2 separate regions of the Homo sapiens genome follow, and region 1 is linked to region 2. Evidence: promoter capture Hi-C in 16 types of primary human blood cells and fetal thymus (Javierre and others, 2016). All regions are on one chromosome and are shown on one strand. Each heading gives the region's core, a stretch centred on a gene start or on the middle of the fragment in contact. The rest is flanking DNA. Distances are from core to core; before and after follow the strand shown. Region 1 holds the start of GBP6 (guanylate binding protein family member 6). Region 2 overlaps GBP7 (guanylate binding protein 7).

Evidence for each region. Contacts are between HindIII fragments. The CHiCAGO score rates a contact against its expected background, and 5 or more counts as called.
Region 1: the fragment with the promoter of GBP6 here is called in contact with a fragment that was not itself captured in region 2 in 9 of 17 cell types (total CD4 T cells, activated CD4 T cells, naive CD8 T cells and 6 more); the score reaches 11.8 in total CD4 T cells.

Annotation. Positions count from the first base shown.
Region 1 is chr1:89,360,766-89,366,835 of GRCh38, reverse strand. It overlaps GBP6 (guanylate binding protein family member 6), which reads right to left and starts at 2,777. Exons shown (of 11, transcript NM_198460.3): 1 at 2,709-2,777. The HindIII fragment of the contact is 2,752 bases long and covers 2,319-5,070 here.
Region 2 is chr1:89,132,909-89,139,139 of GRCh38, reverse strand. GBP7 (guanylate binding protein 7) reads left to right here. Exons shown (of 11, transcript NM_207398.3): 10 at 5,689-5,882. The region is part of intron 1 of LOC105378842 (a long non-coding RNA gene); the gene reads right to left. Among named protein-coding and RNA genes, the nearest start is that of GBP2, 9.9 kb to the right of the region's middle. The HindIII fragment of the contact is 8,826 bases long and covers 1-5,900 here.

The sequences.
Region 1 (6,070 bases), core at 1,528-4,027, 230 kb before region 2:
GAGGAGGGAATGCAGAATCATTGTTTAAAGGTAGAGAGTCTCAGTTTACAATGATGAAGTTCTGGAGATAGCTGCACAACTAATGTCACCGAAGTATTTTCTTAATTAGTAAAATAGTAATTTTATTATGTATATTTTACCAACAAAAAAGAGAGTAAAAGACAAAAGCCTGGATAATCGGGCAACCTATTCCTCTGTGTTATGCTACTGCAACCACTTATCTGTCAAAATAACCTACCTCAAAGACAGTGGTTATGCTATAAGGTTTTTGATCGACAACCTGCAGTAACTTTTTAATGATCATCATATACTGAAACTTGTTCTCTAATGCATCAGTGTGACCTTATATGTTTGTCTTTTATCTACAGGTTTGGAAGAGTGATGGGAATAGAAGGGAGAAGGGAAAGGATCCACTATGGGATGAGAAAACTCTAGAGAATACAGGCTATCTTTCCAAAAGGGAAGCAGGAGAATGTCCAGAATCTAAAGAATTCAAGTACAGGCTGAAATACGTAGCCTAGAAGGGTCAGGTTCTCTGCAATTTACTCCCACAGACAAGAATAAGAAAAAGAATAAGAATAACAATACATATAATATTGCATATTATTTATGGAGATAAATTATAGATATCTAGAGAGAGAGAGAAATTATGTACATACATATTAATAGATAAGTTAGAGAGATTTCTTTTTGAGAGATAAAGTCAATGTCACTTTTGGGTGAATCGAGGTGAAAGGCATATGGGATTTAATTGTAATATTTTTAGAGGTGAAGTTTAATTCCATAAATTTAGTATTGAAAGTACAATTATTCTGTAGGTCTCCTGGCACATTTTTATTGCCATTATATTAAAATGGTTTTCTATGATACCTGTATTTCCTTATAATTAGAAAAATGTAAACATAATATTGTCTTCAAATGCCTCAAATACTCAGTTTAGAATTGATATGTCAGACACTCAAGATGCATCTAATGCCACCAAAAATACCAGCTCTATCATTCACTACTTATGTGGCCTTGACCAAGGAGGTCAAGCTAGCTGAGCCTGTTAATTATAGGGGTCTGTGAGTTAAATCATACATCCAACCTGGAGGGTGTTTTGATAATAAAACGAGACATTATAAGTTTATATCTTTGCATAGCATGCACCACACAATAGGATTTCAGTAAATGTTGAATTAAATGGAGGTTACTACAATAATTACAATAACAATTGGTCCATTAGATTATATATTTCAACAAAATATACAAACTATAAGTTACTAAGAAACAAAAACTACAAATAAATTTTTCACGGAAGCAAAACTGTAAAGTTCAAGCACGCTGTTGCTGTACAACCTGCTCTTGTCTGATTCTTCACTGAGGGGAGTAAGGAAAATGGAGATCAAACACGAGGTCCTGATTTCCACAGTGAAATGCATTGTAATGTGATGTGTAACGTGTTCATCACATTACAGTGACTGCAACTGTACAGTCCCTTCTTTAAAGTGAACAATAAAGGCAGCTCTAGGAAGATGTGGCTGCTCCTGCAAACAACTTTATATAAACCAGGTCTCTGGTTTCTTAGCTGTGTGGGAACCACAGACCTTTTAACTTCTACTAAATGAAATACAGCTGTTCAATCCTATTCAGGACTGGTTTTCACACTCTGATGTACATAAGAATCACCTGATCACTCTGATGATAGTTTCTTTTGCTGTGCAGAAGCTCTTTAATTAGATCCCATTCTCAGCAAACTAACACAGGAACAGAAAACCAAAAACTGCGTGTTCTAACTGGTAAGTGGGAGTTGAACAATGAGAACATGTGGACACGGGCGGCGGGGGGTTGGCGCTGGGGGTGGGGGTGGGAAACTCACACACTGGGGCCTGTCAGTGGGTGGAGGGCAAGGGGAGGGAGAGCATTAGGACAAATACCTAATGCATGCGGGGCTTAAAACCTAGATGACGGATTGATAGGTGCAGCAAACCACCATGGGACATGGTGGTTTTTAAAAAAATCTTTTTTATTTTAAACATAGTGTCTATTCTTCATCTTTTTTTTTTTTAAAGAATCAACTGAGAGGATTGTTCAAACCCAGATTCCCAGGCCTAAGTATCCATCTGTTTAGCAAGAGCTACAAGAGACTCTGATGTTCCTATGGGAAACTAACACCCCCCTCCTCCCCCACCCCCTCCCCACACACACATACACACACACACACACACACGCACACACAGAGTTTGGACTATATAATTATTTTTAAGTAATAAAGACCAGTGATGTGGGGCCTAAGTTTATTTCTACATAGAGATTTATAGAGCTCTTATTCTGAAGCTTTCCTAAGTGTGACCACTAGAAAGATAGACAAGAAACTCTCCCTTCCGGTATAATTGCCTGGAAGCTCCTTGTTCTCTGCATTCTGGGGCTTGCCGCAGGACCTGAGAGAGATAGCCAGGCAGGCGCCCACCAGGGCTCATTCCAGGCCACTCACTGCTGTCCTGAGTTGATGATCAGGGAACAGCACATCCAGGGGGACGCGGCGTGCCCGGCTGTCACTGGTTCAAGTGGAGAAGCTGAGCTTCCCCAGAACTAAAGCCAGCCACAGACTCCTGCAGGCCAGGCAGCAGGCACCCTGCCCTTCCTGCCCATTCCTCAGTTACCACTCTGAATCAGAAACCAAGTCTTGAGTTAGGAACTAAGTTGCATTTAAAAGAAAGTGAACATACCTGCTCTATAGCACCGCAGGTCCAAGAACAGTTTTCAGTTGCCTCACTCACCTCTTGTTTTCTTTCCTCCTTTTACTTTTCTGTTCTTTCCTTTATAAAAGGAAAAAAAAGCTGAGTAAGCTAGTTGTTTCCACAAATGGGATGGTGCAGTAAAAATAAACTTGGAAGTAAAATTAATCCATGCTTTTAATAAAGTGTTAGCAGAGCCATGCCTGAATCATCCGATGTGAGTTTGAGGATGGGTGTTGGGTGCAGGGGTGGGAGGAGGTCAGAAAAAGCCACAGATACTGCACAGTCACACCTTAGCAAGCACAATCCTGCCAGCTTTCTTTTGTCTTTCCCATCTTAGAAGGCTTCACAGGCTTTCTTCTTGATACCGTTCCCAGGTGGCTTTAGTTTCCTAGGCACACAAGAAAAACAGGAAATCTACAGTAGTCACATAAGCAAAGCCTTAGAAACCAAGAATATTTTAAGCATTTTTCTCTTAGTGGGAATTCTTGAGTTCTGGGGTCTTTTGTTAGTGAAGAACTTTTGATATTTTAAATGTGTTCACACATGCACACACACACACAGAAGAGAGAGAGAGAAAGAGAGAGAGCTAAAGATATTACTGGTTTAAAAAAAGAATGAACCATGTCTTTTACAGCAACATGGATGGAACTGGAGTTCATTATCTTAGGTGAAACAACTCAGAAACCGAAAGTCAAATACCACATTCTTACTCATAAGTGGAAGCTAAAAAATCTGCATACATGGACATAGAAGGTGGAATGTGCAGTGCATAACAGTGTACAAGCTCCTATGAGAATCTAATGCTGCTGCTGATCTGACAGGAGGCAGGTCTCAGGCCTTAGTGCTCTCTCCCTACTCACCTCCTGTGTGGCCCAGTTTCTAACAGACCATGCTCTGGGGGTTTGGGACCCTTGATGTGGACTATTTATCCAACAACCCACAGTTTCCATTGGTTGAGTCTTATCCCCAGGGACTTTAACTATTTTGAATTCACAAGCTGCCCTTGGGCAAAATAGACACCCTTTCACAGCTTGGAGAAACATCTGAGTGAGAAAAGGAGAAAGACTCTCTACAGAGGACATAGCAGCATGCTGGGACTGTCTACCATGGCTGCACTGCTAAATGGATTTGAGAACAGAAGCAAGTGGCAGAATGAGCAGACATGAGTTTTGGCAATAACTTAGGCTGAGGATTTGGGGAGTGTGGTAGACTAATCTGAATACTCTATTCAGACAAAGACTTGTGTTAAAAATGTAAAATTCTGGGCCAGGTGCGGTGGCTCACTCCTGTAATCCCAGCACTTTGGGAGGCCGAGGCGGGCGGATCACGAGGTCAGGAGATCAAGACCATCCTGGCTAACAGGGGGAAACCCTGTCTCTCTCTACTAGAAATACAAAAAAATTAGCCGGGTGTGGTGGCGGGCACCTGTAGTCCCAGCTCCTCAGGAGACTGAGGCAGGAGAATGGTGTGAACCTGGGAGGCAGAGCTTGCAGTGAGCCGAGATTGTGCCACTGCACTCCAGCCTGGGCGACAGAGCGAGACTCCATCTCAAAAAAAAAGGAAAATTCTGGATTCAAAAATGTTTAATATTTTCAAAAGCAATATTAAAAATTGACTAATTTGTCATGAATGATCTTAAAGACCAAATTCCAAGGGAAGGTGAACGCCCAAAGAGTTAAGTGGAGTATTGAAGCTGTTTTTTTTCTAATAGCATTTGCCAACCAAGGGAATGTGACCTTCAGTTTGGAAGGCATTTATGAAGAGGCCAAAAGTCAAAGACCAGAGCTTGTCTAAAGTAAAGAGTCTAGTAGGAGGCCTCCTTTAGATGTTATAAGACTAAACCAGTGATTCTTAATACTTGCTGCACATAAACATCAATTGAGGTTCTCCTTAAAAACTTGAGCTCTGATCCATCACCAGAGACTCTGATTTAGTAAGTCTAGAGTTGAGGGTGAGTGTGAGTGTTTTTTTAAAGCCTCGCCCCACCTCCAGGTGGTTCCAATTGCAGTCAAGGAGGCAAAGAACTGGAGTAAATGTCGAGAGCAACTGTGAACTAGAACTAGCAGGGCAAGCAGGTTTAGGACTGGCTAGCTGGAATAATTTCAGTGGGCTCTGGGGCAGAGGGATTGTTCTTACTTTTGATATTTGGCCTTTCGGTGAGTAGGGCAGATGGATAGTGGCCCAGAGAATGAGAGCCAACAGAGAAAGTGGCGGGGTGTGGGCTCCAGGTTGGTTGGTTTGCATATGAAAGGCACACTTGCAGGAGAATCCTGTAGTATCTCTAAGAACTGGCAAGCCCAGGGAGGGTCAGTCTCTCCAGGATCAGCAAAGCCCCAAGATGTCTAAAGCTTTAGATAGGGAAACTAGAAAATGTGTTAATTATGGGGTTGCATATATTGGATGGTCCATGAAGTCAAGCCAGGAGCTTAGCACAAAACACCCAGAATAGTCAAAGTGACCTGAGAATGAAGAACAAAGCTGGAGGCATCACACTTACTGATTTCAAAATGTATAACAAATCTACAGTAATTAAGACAGTATGGAACTGGCATAAAAATAGACACATAGATGAATGAAACAGAATAGAGAGCTCAGAAATAAAATACAATATTTTGAAAATATATTGAAAAGGTTCTCAACATTACTAATAATCAGAGAAATGCAAATCAAAACAATAGTGATATATCACCTCCTACCTGTTAGGATGGCTATTACAAAAAAATAGATGAGCATTGATAAGGATATAGAGAAACCGGAATCCTTTTACACTGTTGAGAATGTGAAATGGTGAGGCAACGCTGCAAAACAGTATGGAGGTTTCCCAAAAAATTACCTACTACATGATCCAGCAATACCACTACTAGGAATATATTCAAAAGAATAAAAATCAGAATCTTAAAGAAATATCTGCACTCCCATGTTCACTGTAGCATTATTCACAATGGCCAAGATATGAGAAAACACAAATGTCCATCAACAGATAAATAGATAAAGAAAATTTGGTGTATGTGTGTGTGTGTCTGTGAGAGAGAGAGAATTATTCAACTTTAAAAAACAAGTGTGTTCTGTCATTTGAAACAACATGGATAAACCTGAAGGACATTATGCTAAAAAAATAAAGCCAGTTACAGAGGACAAAAATTGCATGACCTCACTTATATGTGGAATCTAAAATAGACTCATAAAAGCAGAGAATAGAATGCTGATTGCCAAGAGTTCGGGGGGAGGGAAATGGGGAGTATATTCAATGGGTATAAGGTTTCAGTCATAAAGATAAGTAAATTCTAGAGATCCACTGTACAACATAAGAACCATAGGGCATAGCTATAGTTAAAAATACTGTATTATAC
Region 2 (6,231 bases), core at 238-2,737:
GGCATTATTTCTGAGGGCTCTGTTCTGTTCCATTGATCTATATCTCTGTTTTGGTGTTGAGCATTTTTTCATATGCTTGCTGGCCATGTGTATGTCTTCTTGGATAAATGTCTGTTAATGTCCATTGCCCATTTTTTAATGGGGTTGTTTGCTTTGTTCTTAATTTCTTTAACTTCCTTATAGATTCTGGATATTAGACTTTTTTCAGATGCATAGTTTGCAGATATTTTCTCCCATTCTGTAGGTTGTCTGTTTACTCTGTTTATAGTTTCCTTTGTTGTGCATGAACTCTTTAGTTGAATTAGGTCCCTCTTGTTAACTTTTTGTTCGGTTGCAGTGGCTTTTGAAGTTTTCATCAGGAAATCTTTGCCAGTGCCTATGTCCAGAATGGTATTTCCTAGGTTTTCTTTTGGTGGTTTTATAGTTTTAAATTTTACATTTACATCTTTAACTCATCTTGAGTTGATTTTTGTATATAGTGAGAAGAAGGGGTCCAGTTTCAATCTTCTGCATATAGCTAGCCAGTTAACCCAGCACCATTTATTGAATAATGCATTCTTTCTCCATTGCTTTTTTTGTTAGCTTTACCAAAGATCAGATAGTTGTAGGTGTGTGGTATTATTTCTGCTTTCTTTAAACTTTTCCATTTGTTCATGTGTCTGTTTTGTTTTGTTTTGTTTTTTGACCAGCACCATGCTATTTTGGTTATTGTAGTCTTGTAATATAGTTTAAACTCAAGTCATGTGATGTCTCTGGCTTTGTTCTTTTTGCTTAGGAGTGCCTTGGCTACTCGGGGTTTTTTTGTTGTTGTTGTTCCATGTGGATGTTAGAATAGTTTTTACTAATTCTATTTTTAAAAAGTCATCGATAATTTGATAGGAATAGCATTGAATATGTAAATCAATTTGGGCAGTATGGCTATTTTAACAACATTGATTCTTCCTATCCATATGCATGAAATAATTTTCCATTTGTTTGTGCAGTCTCAGATTTCTTTCAGCAGTGTTTTATAATTCTCATTGTAGAGATGCTTCACCTCCCTGATTGGCTGTAAACCTAGGTATTTTATTCTTGGTTATTCACAATAGCTATTGTGAATAGGATTGTGTTCTCGGTTTGACTTTCAGCTTGGACATTATTGGTGTGTAGAAATGCTACTTATTTTTGTACATTTACTTTTTTATCCTGAAACTTTGCTGATGTTTATCAGATGGATGAGACTTTGGGCAGAAATTATGGAGTTTTCTAACTACAGAATTCTATTGTCTATGAAGAGAGAGAGTTTGACTTCCTCTCTTCCTATTGGATAACTTTTTTTTTCCCCTTTGCCTGATTTCTCTGGCTAGGACTTCCAGTACTATGTTGAATAAGAGTTGTTGAGAGTGGGCATCCTTGTCTGTTTTTGGTTCTCAAGTGAAATGTTTCCAGCTTTTTCACATTCAGTATGATGTTGGCTGTGGGTTTTTCATAGATGGCTTTTATTATTTTGAGGTATGTTCCTTTGAGGCCCAGTTTGTTGAGATATTTTAACATGAAATATTGAATTTTATCAAAAGCCTTTTCTGTGCCCATTGAGAAGATCATCTGGTTTTTGTTCTGAGTCCCGTTTGTGTGAGGAATCAATTTATTATTAGCATATGCTGAATCAACCTTGCATTCCAGGAATAAAGCCTAATTGACAGTGGTGGGTTCGCTTTTTAATGTGCTGCTGGATTTGGTTTGCTAGTATTTTGTTGAAGATTTTTTCATCCATGTTCATCAGGAATATTGTCCTGCATTTTTCTTTTTTTGTTGTGTCTCTGCCAGGTTTTTAAAATCAGAATGATGCTGGCCTCATAGAATGTATTAGGAAAGATTCCCTGCTCCCCATTTTTTTTGGAATAGTTTAGTAGAATTGGTACCAGCTCTTCTTTCTATGTATGGCAGAACTGACTATGACTCTGTCTGGTCTAGGGCTTTTTCTGCTTGGTAGGCTTTTTAATGCTGACCCAATTTTGGAACTTGTTATTAGTCTGTTCCAGGTTTCAATTTCTTCCTGGTTCACTTTTGGTAGGTTGTATGTTTCCAGGAATTTATCCATTTCTTCTAGGTTTCTTAGTTAGTGTGCATAGTGGTGTTCATAATAGTCTCTCAGGATTTTTTGTATTTCTGTGGAGTTGATAGCAATGTCCCTTTTGCCATTTTTTTATTGTGTTTATTTGGATCTTCTCTTTTTTTGTTCTTTTTTAGTCTAACTAGAAGTATATCCATCTTATGTATTTTTCCAGAGAACCATTGGTTTCATTGATCTTTTGTATGGTTTTTCTTGTCTCCACTTTATTCACTTCAAGTCTGATTTTGGTTATTTCTTGTCTCAGCTAGCTTTGTGCTTGGTTCACTTTTGTTTTTCTAGTTCCTCAAGGTGTAATGTTAGATTGTTAATTTGAGATATTTCTAACTTTCTACTGTAGTCGTTTAGTGCTATTAACATTCCTCTTAACACTGCTCTAGTTGTGTCTCAAAGATTCTGGTAGGTTGTATCTTTGTTTTCATTAATTTCAAATAATTTATTTCTGCCTTAAATTCACTGTTTACCCCAAAATCATTCAGAAGCAGATTAATTAATTTTCATGTAATTGTATAGCTTTGAGAGATATTCTTTGTATTGATTTCTATTTTTACAGCATTGTGGTCTGACAGCATTGGTATGATTTGGGTTTTTTTTTTATTTGTTGAGAATTGCTTTATGGCAGAGCAAGGAGTCAATTTTAGAGTATGTGCCATGTGCAGATGAGATGAATGTATATTCTGTTATTGTTGGGTGGAGTGTTCTGTAGATGTCTGTTAGGTCCATCTGGTCAAATGTCAAGTTAGGTCCTGAATATCTTCGTTAGTTTTTTGCCTCAATGATCTGTCTAATATTGTCAGTGGAGTGTTGAAGACTCCAACTATTATTGTGTGGTTATCTAAGTCTCTTCATAGGTCTCTTTGAACTTGTTTTATGAATCTAGGGTCCTCTAGTATTGGGTGCATACATATTTAGTATAATTAAGTCTTCTCGTTGAATTGAAACTTTTATCATTATGTAATGCCCATCTTTATCCTTTTTGATCATTATTGGTTTGGAGTCTGTTTTGTCTGAAATAAGAATAGCAACCCCTGCTCTTTTTGTTTTCCATTTGCTTGATAGATTTTTCTTCATCCCTTTACTTTGAGCCTATTGGTGTAATTGCATATGAGATTGGTCTCTTGAACATCGAAGACAGTTGGGTCTTATTTCTTTATGCAACTTGCCACTCTGTGCCTTTTAATTGGGGTTGTTAGCCCTTTTACAGTCAAAGTTAATATTGATATGTGTGGATTTGATCCACACTTGATTGTGTTATTGCTCTGTAGTGTCAATGATCCATGTACTGAAGTGTGCTTTTGTAGTGGCTGATAATGGTCTTTCATTTTCATGTTTAATGCTCTTTTCAGCAGCTTGAGTAAGGCAGGTCTGGTGGTAACAAATTCCCTTAGCATTTGCTTGTCTAAAAAGGATTTTTTTTTTCTTATGAACCTTAGTTTGGCTGGATATGAAATTCTTCCTTGGAATTTCTTTTCTTTACAAATGCTGAATATAGGTCCCCAGTCTCTTCTGGCTTGTAGGGTTTCTTCTGAAAGTTCCACTGTTAGCTTGATGGGATTCCCTTTGTAGAAGACCTGCCCCTTTTCTCAAGCTGCCTTTAATATTTTTTCTTTTGCACTGACCTTGGAAAATCTGATGACCATTTCATGTGTTGGGGATGGTCATCTTGTATAGGATCTCACAGGGCTTCTCTGATTTCCCGAATTTGAATGTCAACCTCTCTAGTGAGGTTGGGGAAATTTTCATGGGCATTATCCTCAAATATGTTTTCCAAATTGCTTGCTATCTCTCCCTTTCACGGGTGCCAATGAGTCATAGGTTTGGTCTCTTTATGTAATCTCATATTTCTCTGAGATTTTGTTCATTCTTTTTTATTCTTTTTTCTTTATTTTTGTTTGACTAAGTTGATTTGAAAAATGGGTTTTTGAGCTCTGAGATTATTTCCTCATCTTGGTCTATTCTACATTTAATACTCTGATTGTATTATGAAATTCTTGTAGCATGTTTTTCAGCTCTATCAAATCAGTTTGGCTCTTTTTTAAAATGGCTATTTCATCTTTTAGTTCTTGAGTCATTTTACTGAATTCCTTCAGTTCCTTGGACTGTATCTCAACTGTCTCCTAAATATCGATAATCTTCATTGCCATCCAGATTCTGAATTCCATATCTACTATTTCAGCCATTTCAGTTTGATTAGGAACTATTGCTGAGGAGCTAGTGGACTCATTTGGAGGTAAGAGACACTCTGGTTTTTTGAGTTGCCAGAGTTCTGTCCCTGTTTCTTTCTCATCTGTGTGGGCTGATATTCCTTTAGTCTTTGAAGTGTCTGTTTCTTTCATGGGGTTTTTGGCTTTTATTTTGTTTTATTCTCTTGAAGATTCAACTGGTATAAGTTGGGTTCATCTGACTGGGTTTTTTTTTTTTTTTTCTGGATGATTTCAAGGGGCCAAGGCTCAGATCAGCACTCCTGAGCTGGGGGCTTGAACCTTAGTAGGCTGGGACCAGGCCCATGGCTTTGTTCTCTGGCCCCTCTAGGTTAAGCACCTGCTGTGCTGCAGGGGCCAACTTGCTACTGGTTAACTGGCAACAACACACCGATGAGGAGTGCTGGCAAAAGTACTTTCTCAGAGCAGTGGCAGTGGGGTCCAAGGTCATTGGTGAGCAGCAGCAGCAGGGCAGTAGTGCTGCAGGTTCTGTGCATGTGCATTGGTGGTGGCAGGTTGACAGGGTCTGCACAGGTATGTGTACCAGCAAAGCGGTGGTGAGAGGCTGCAAGCGAGTGTGTGCCAGCAAAACAGTGGGGAGAGGGTGCATTGAGTGCACACTGGTGTGAGCCCATCTGCTGAAGCTCTATGATGGTTAGGTAGGGTATGTCAGCAAAGAAGATATGGTGATGGCTGCTGGGAAGTGCTTCAGTTAGGCATCTGACATTGCACTTTAAGTGGATGCAGCCAGGCAGGGACCATGAGAGAGGCTAGCAGACTGGGAGGTGCTCAGACCATACTGGATCTGTCCCACAGGCAAGATAGCCCAGTTCTATCCAGGACCAATAGTCGACAAAAGCCAAGGCCATGTATCTGGGCATGGCAAGCCTTGGGGGATGGGAGTTCCTGGTTGTGCTCCACTGCAGCCATTCCTGTGCCAAATATCTAGGCTCCACACTGGCCAGAGTCCTGTCCCTACCAAGTCTCCAAGCAGCTCTCTTTGCCAGCTCAAACATCTATGGGAGTTGTGGGGTCTCCTAAAGCTAGGATTTCAGAGGTCCATGGCAAGAGTGGGCCACTTCGCACCAATTTACCTCACCCCTTCCCCAGGAGCTGCTCAGGATTAGGAATGAGTCTTGGTGCTTGGCAACCTGTGCAAGGTTCCCAGCTTCCTCTCCCTTCAGCCTTGGGTCTGCATCCTTCCTTCATCAACTCTCAATGCCTTCCTTCTGAAGTCCTGCTTGGAGTTTATCAGTCTTCTTTACGGTCTGGTCTCTCAGTGGGAGAAGCTCTTCCTGACTCCATCTACTTAGCCATGATGGTTCTTCTCCCACCTGACTGTTATTTTCTTCCCTCTGTAAAACCTCGGTGGAACAGCTAAGCAGGCTAAGAAGGAGGCAGCTGAAAAGGAACAGGAGCTGCTAAGACAAAAACAGAAGGAACAGCAGCAAATGATGGAGGCTCAAGAGAGAAGTTTCCAGGAAAACATAGCTCAACTCAAGAAGAAGATGGAGAGGGAAAGGGAAAACTATATGAGAGAACTGAGAAAGATGTTGAGTCACAAGATGAAGGTGAGTCTGGATGAAGCTTGGCAGTGCTTGAGGCACAATGCCAGTTCCTCATTTAGGGAAGAGCCAAAATTTTAAGCTCAGTCAAGATTTCAGAAGGAAACACAAAAGATATATTTCACTTAAATTTCAAATACATATGAATTCTACTGAAGCCTGTAAGTTTACAAGACTTCAGCACTTTCTGTCATGTTAGACTTTGGAGAGTACACATGACATCCCCCAGGGTGCTGGGCTGCTGTTTGTGGTGATTATAGGATGGTCTCACTGTGCCCCAATTAATTAGGACCTTAGTCCACCAGCCCTTAGGATTCTTGGCACAACCATCAAAAGGACCCAAAATACATCCATC